2 separate regions of the Homo sapiens genome follow, and region 2 is linked to region 1. Evidence: promoter capture Hi-C in 16 types of primary human blood cells and fetal thymus (Javierre and others, 2016). All regions are on one chromosome and are shown on one strand. Each heading gives the region's core, a stretch centred on a gene start or on the middle of the fragment in contact. The rest is flanking DNA. Distances are from core to core; before and after follow the strand shown. Region 1 holds the start of STAP1 (signal transducing adaptor family member 1). Region 2 holds the start of RUFY3 (RUN and FYVE domain containing 3).

Region 1 (3,299 bases), core at 189-2,688:
AAAACTGCTATCATAAACAGTTATTATAAATACCTTGGAAAACATTCAATGAACAACCTGATTTAAATTACTAATTAGAATTTTTTTTTCTCAACTTCCCTTTCCTGGCAAAGTGTGACTATGTGGCTTACCTGTGGTGACAAGATTGAATTTACATTAAAAGCATATAGGATCAATCTAAAAAATTCTAATATAACTGAAAGGTAATTATTTATGCATGTTTAACATCCATAACAGAATACAAATTACCATGTCTTTACTCTCAAATAGTAAATGATCTGATTATATATGTAAGAAATGTGAATATGCTATTATAGATTTTTCATATATATAATTTTTCCACAAGTATTCATAAATCCTCAGAAAATATATTTTAGCATCATTAAACATTTCTGATGGAATTTCTGAAAACCTTAAAATTTTTCTAGTTTTAGTCAGTATACAATTTCATAAAATTTGACCTAACTTAATGATTTTTTTATTTAATAACAGGCAATTTTGGGCTTATTTCTCTAATTAATTTCAAGTCATCCATAATTACTGTTTTAAAAGTAATGATTTTAACTAACTATAAGTTTTAATTATTACATTTAAAAATACAGAATGCTTCATGGATTTTCTTAGAGCAAAGGTATTTATGTAGCTTAGTGTACTTAATACCCACAGTAGTACCCCAAAAATTAAAAGTCACTATCTTGAATAGTATTTTAGAACACATAACTATATATAATGTTAAACAGTATGAACTTTGTCATTTTAACAATTTTTACAAAAGCCATTTTTAATAATTTGATCATTATAAACTTCAAATGACTCAGAACAGGAGCAGGTTTAATTTTAATCATGATATCATTTTATCTTAATGGTACATGTCATCATTGAAGCATAGCAATAAATTGTGGAGAAAATACAAGAAACATTTTATCTCCCAAGCCAAAATCTTTTGTGATATTTAAATAAATTCTTTGGAAATTTAGCTTATTGACTTTTTTATATTAGTGCCTTAATATTACAACCTCTGTTATTATACATATTATATATGTGTATACATACAGGTTTAAGCCAGACATTGTATTTAAATTATGAAAAATTGGAATCATTTTTCTGAGCTCAAAGAAGAGAAGATGATTTAATTTCAACAGAAACAAGGAGGTCTTAACACATCACATCACCATGAAATAAATATTAAATTAAAACAGAAGTCTTAGGTTTAACATTATCATCTATAGACTCACCCGGTATCCTGACCGCTTGATTAATAAAAAACCTTCAAAGTACAAAGGTAGAGCAGTAATCTTTAACCTTTCCTGGAAGATCCTGCGAGGGGCTGGTTTTGGGGGCTTCTTAGCCATCATACCCCTCTCTTTGGTGTGTGGTTTGGTTTCTCGTCTCAAACAAAATGAAATCTTCCTTCTGTGAGAGGAAAAGGCAACTGTTCAAAGAGGAAGTCCCAAATTGCTTTTTAACCACCAACACTACCACCAACAGGACACACACACACACAGACGCACACACACACACACACACTTTTTTTTCCATTACTTTTTGTGAGGTAAGAAAGAACAGGTGTAGACTGACTTTCAGAGGGCAATCTCTGGGTAATCCACATGTGCTTAGATTTAAAGCGCAAAATAAACAGAAGATTAACATCACCAGAAGATGAAAGAAACAGGTGTAGAGATTGTGAACTTTAGGGGAGATATCAAGAACACAGTTATTCTTTCTATCTTTGTTTTTGTTTATTGGTGTCCATTTTTATTTGCAGAAGACATGACTTGAATAAACTCAGCTTCATTAAAAATTACTTCATAGAATAATTTTATTAGTACTACTTCTGTTGGTTAAATATTTTAGGGTCAAGTTTTGTGTAAATAAAAAAAATAGTTGTATCTCATGCTCATTTGATGCTTCACTAAATATAAACCACAATTATGGGAACACGGAATATGGAATTTTTTTCTTTTTTCTTTCTTTCTTTTTTTTTTTTTTTTGCCAGTAGATATTCCAAGTACATGAGTTCCCAATGAATATTTAGTGCTATGTTTTGAATGTGTCCTCCAAAACTTATGTGTTAGAAACTTAATCCCCAATGCAACAGTGTTTAGAAATGGGACTTTTAGAAGGTGATTAAGTCATGAGGCCTCTGCCCTCATGAATGAATGAATTAATTAATGCTGTGGGAGTGGGTTTCTTTCTCTTTTTTCAGAGGCAGGGTCTTGCTCTGTTGCCCAGGCTGGAATACACTGGTGCAATCACAGCTCACTGCAGCCTTGACCTCTCAGGCTCAAACAATCCTCACACATCAGCCTCCTAAGTAGCTGGGACTACAAGGCACGCGCCACCACTCCTAGCTAACTTTTTCATTTTTTGTATAGACAGTATCTCCCTATGTTGCCCAGGTTGGTCTCAAACTCTTGGGCTCAAGCGATTCTCCTGCTGTGGCCTCCCAAAGTGCTGGGATTACATGTGTGAGCCATTGCACCTGGCCTGGAAGTGGGTTTTTTATAAAATCAAGTTTGGCACTTTCTCACATGCTATCATCCTCTCTTGCTCTTCTATCTTCTGCCATGGAATGATGCTGCATGAAGGTCCTCATCAGATGCTGGCCATGTTCTTTGACTTCCAGACTCCAGAACCATGAGCGAAATACATTTCTGTTCATTATAAATTACCAGTCTGTGGCATTCTGTTACAGCAACACAAAGGAGTCTAAGATATTTGGCAAAAAAATATCTGGCAGAGAAAGCTGTAAGTTTTCAAACTTTTATTTTGTTCTTTTGTGCTTTCTGAGCTGCAGACCATTGATACTATGATTCATGGATGGACTTCCCACAGTTATCTAGTGAGATTTATAAAGCTATACTGGGGCCAAAGTGCACTCAATGGTTGCATGTAGGAAATGGTCCTTAAGAGATTGGATTTGGCGTAGCACAGTGCAGGAAATGATGGGAGAAAAGAATACTAGAAGGAATTTTGATTTGTCTTACAGGGGTCCTAAGAATTTCTACCATTGCCTATTTCACACTCAGTATTTCAGAACTACTCTAGATTTAGAACAGCCTGGGCCCAGTGAGACCAGCCTATTATTAGAAATCAAAGCAAGTCAGGAGTCTTCAGTCTGATTCTCCTTTCCTAATGGAGAGACTGCATGGTTTTCTCCACCAGTATGGGTCCCACTGATCCTGCAGCTGTAGATATGGGATGACAAATTGTCTACAAAGTGAGGTAGAACAATACGGACTGATTATCAGTAAGTTAGAGAAGAGTGTTCAGATGTATTATCAAAATGAAAACAGCTC
Region 2 (3,263 bases), core at 348-2,847, 3.2 Mb before region 1:
CACATAATCATGGGCCTGGTGACCACCACTTAAATGCTTATAGCTAAATTAAATCTAATAACTATCAGTGGTATTAACATAAAAGTGGGTATTTCTTGGGACCAAATGACTGTTTAAATATCCAGAGTTTGGTAATGGAGCAAGGCAGTAATACTCACAGGCTTTCATGGGACTATGCTTTCTTTATTTTCATTTCTAGTAATTTAAAATAATAGCTTTCTTGCCCAATTTAAGGCAAAATTCTAAAATGCACTGTCGGCATTTCTCTATTTTCTTCCAAATCCTCTATAGTTGATTACAGGTCTTGGAAACTCTGTATTTATCTGATTTCTTTAATCAGCAGACATACAATTTATTACTTAGATTATAGCTCTCACACATTTTCCATACTGAGAAATGTGTTGCTACAGATTTCTCTATGAAGAATTCAAATGGCGCTGCTAAAAACGCTTACATGAACCAAACAGCTCACTTTTGCTTATCCATAGGAATCCTGCTCCAAAAACATATATTTGAGGTGTTAAAATTGTTAAAAATTATTTTTGAGACACTGGTAAACTAGATTTCATGATAAAGGGAATATTTCATATTGTATAACTCTCAAATTGGACGGGAATACATTTTTTTCAAACAAAATATGTAAACTGAGGCAGTTGCCAGAAGACTTCTTGGTAGCCTTCTAAAACTGTATTTTTCTTCCCTAAAGACTTTTAAAGCTTTGGAGGCTGTTTTAAGTAGTACTGGAATTGTTGGATGTAACGATGTTTTGATGAAAATATAGAATAAAATAATAATAAAAAATAAATAGTACTGGCATTGCATGGAATTTCAGCTGATGTCTTATAACTTGTGCACATAACGAAACATACAGCCAAAGAAAGCTGTCTAATTAACAAACCAATTGTTAAAAGATGCAAAGGGTCTTAAAAACCACTTAAACATTGTTCTTAAAGACACACCCAAAATGACTGCTTTGTGTTCTGTGTTATTAACCATCCCTAAAACTTTCTCAAGGCTAAGGCTGACTGGGAAGATAAAATGCTTATCAAACACAATGGGAAAATTCTGAGTCATGATAAGATTTCAACTCAAGGTCAAAGGCAGAGAATCACCTTTCCTAACCCCATCTGCTAGGTACAATTCACCTATGGTCTTCTTTGTCCTGTCGATGTGCCTAACTATCAGGCAGATGTTTATAAAGAATTTCTCCTCATATGCAAGCGTTTTTTGTTTTTTTTCATCAGTATAAGGACAGAGAATAAACCTTAGCTAAGAAGCAACTGTATTAAAAACAAAACGATTTGTAGCTATGATTCAAATCAGCTCTCTTTCTGTGGTATTAAGAGAATTAAAGGGTAGAAGCAGAAAACCTCTCATAAATTAGCAAGAGTCCTGGAAAAAAGTCGCAAGTCAAGAGACCACAAAGATCTCAGAGGTACTGACAGTGGAAATCTCAAATGGATCATAATAGTTACCACAAATAATTTATAAAAAGCAATGGCCAATAGATTCCAATATTACCATTCTATTGTAATCTATAGGGATGCCATATTAATCATATTTAACCTTTCCAGGCATTATGCTTTCTTAGGAGTCCATATTCAATAAATAAATGCTGAAAAGTTATTTTCTCATCTAACCTAATAATCCATATTGTTAAAAAAATGTTTTATCAAACATTTCCTAGATGTCATAACTTGCTTAAAATTGTATCCTCATATAATGGTGAGGATACCATTACCAAATACCCTGGTGTTTCTACTGTATTCATCATGTACAATCCTATAATTATAGTCATGTTGTCTTAACTTAGTGTTATAAATCACTACAATTTCTATAACATTTTCATATATGAACAAAATTAATAGCTTTCTCATTATTGAATAGAATCAGATGTGATAAGTGACCTCAAATGTTTTATTTAGAGGCTTAAAGACAAAGAACTCTAAACGAGTATCCAGCATCTTTTGAAAGGATACCTAAAGGGGCAAGAAAAAAAATTATCTTTCCCCCATGAGCAAGAGAAGGGGAGCTGGGTGGTAAGTAAGGATGCAAGGTTTTCAGGACTGTTAACAGTTGAGAGTGTAGGTTCTTTCTACCTCTCCCTGATCCTCCCAGCCCTCCCCCATAACAATGAGGATGCTGGTGAAATACTAGCGGACAGGATCTGACCATACCTTCATGGGTAGGCTCTGGGTCAGGTGTAAGTGAGATGTCATCCAGCTCTCGCAGGCAGAGCCATTCTCCATCCATGGACACTCGGAATTTGCAAAGGTAGATGGTCTCCATGGCAGCCTGTGTGATCTTGTCAGTGGTGGGGGTTGGCATATCGGTCGGAGGCGTCAGAGCAGACATGATGACTCAGCTGGGACCACAACACACACACAGACACACACACACTCACACACACACACCAAAAAAATAAATACAACCTCCTCACCAAAAAAACCCAATACAAAGCTCTGAAACAAAGCTTTCAGGAAAAGGGTGGGGGAGGTTTAAAAAAAAAAAAAAGGAAAAATACCTTATAGGTTAAGAACAAACTGCTCAAGATAAACAATTCTACACTATCTTATAGACAGTTCCTACCACATAGCAAAATAAGATGATGCTTGTCTTCTCCCAGCTTCCTCTCCTTTTATCTTCCCTTCCCTGCCCCCCACCTTTTTTTTCAGCTGAGCTATAGGCTTTAAATCCCGCACAGCTGATGCTGCCTTAGCTGGCTTTAAAAATCTGGCCTCGATATGAGTAAGTGAAAAATCCTCCTCCTTTGTGCAGAAAAAAAATATAAAAGAAAAACCTGAACAAAAAATAAACCTATATTTTCAATGTAGCTTAAAAAAAAAATCCTGAGCTGCAGAAATCACTTCCAGGATCTGCTCAGATGAGCTGGGATGCTGAGTTCTCATAGGATTGGCCGTGCGCAGTAAGCAGGGTGTTGACCAAAATGGCTGACTAATGAACTGAACTGAAAATTCAGGCTCATGTGACCAGCTGCTCTGAACGTAGGGCAAGCAATTCCCAGGATGCTTTATAGATGCTGCTGATGCTGGGAGAGCAATTAGGCTTCTCTCTCTCATCCTGTACAACCCACTTCCAGACTGTGCTAGTCAAACTGTGATCAGACATAACACAATGCACATATCCTCATCAATTCTTCTTACTTTGGGATCAAGGACTGAATAAAAGGATGACAATTAATACCGGATAATAATCTATAGTAAAGATGGTAAAAGAGGCAGTTAGATTAATTTAACAAGCAT

The links. The method cuts DNA at HindIII sites, captures the fragments that hold promoters and counts their contacts. A CHiCAGO score of 5 or more calls a contact.
Region 2: a fragment that was not itself captured here is called in contact with the fragment with the promoter of STAP1 in region 1 in 1 of 17 cell types (non-activated CD4 T cells); the score reaches 5.7 in non-activated CD4 T cells.

Annotation. Positions count from the first base shown.
Region 1 is chr4:67,556,866-67,560,164 of GRCh38, reverse strand. STAP1 (signal transducing adaptor family member 1) reads right to left here and starts at 1,438. Exons shown (of 9, transcript NM_012108.4): 1 at 1,236-1,438. The coding sequence starts at 1,355. The HindIII fragment of the contact is 12,125 bases long and covers 1-3,299 here.
Region 2 is chr4:70,721,666-70,724,928 of GRCh38, reverse strand. It overlaps RUFY3 (RUN and FYVE domain containing 3), which reads right to left and starts at 2,965. Exons shown (of 18, transcript NM_001037442.4): 1 at 2,178-2,965. The coding sequence starts at 2,355. The HindIII fragment of the contact is 1,757 bases long and covers 719-2,475 here.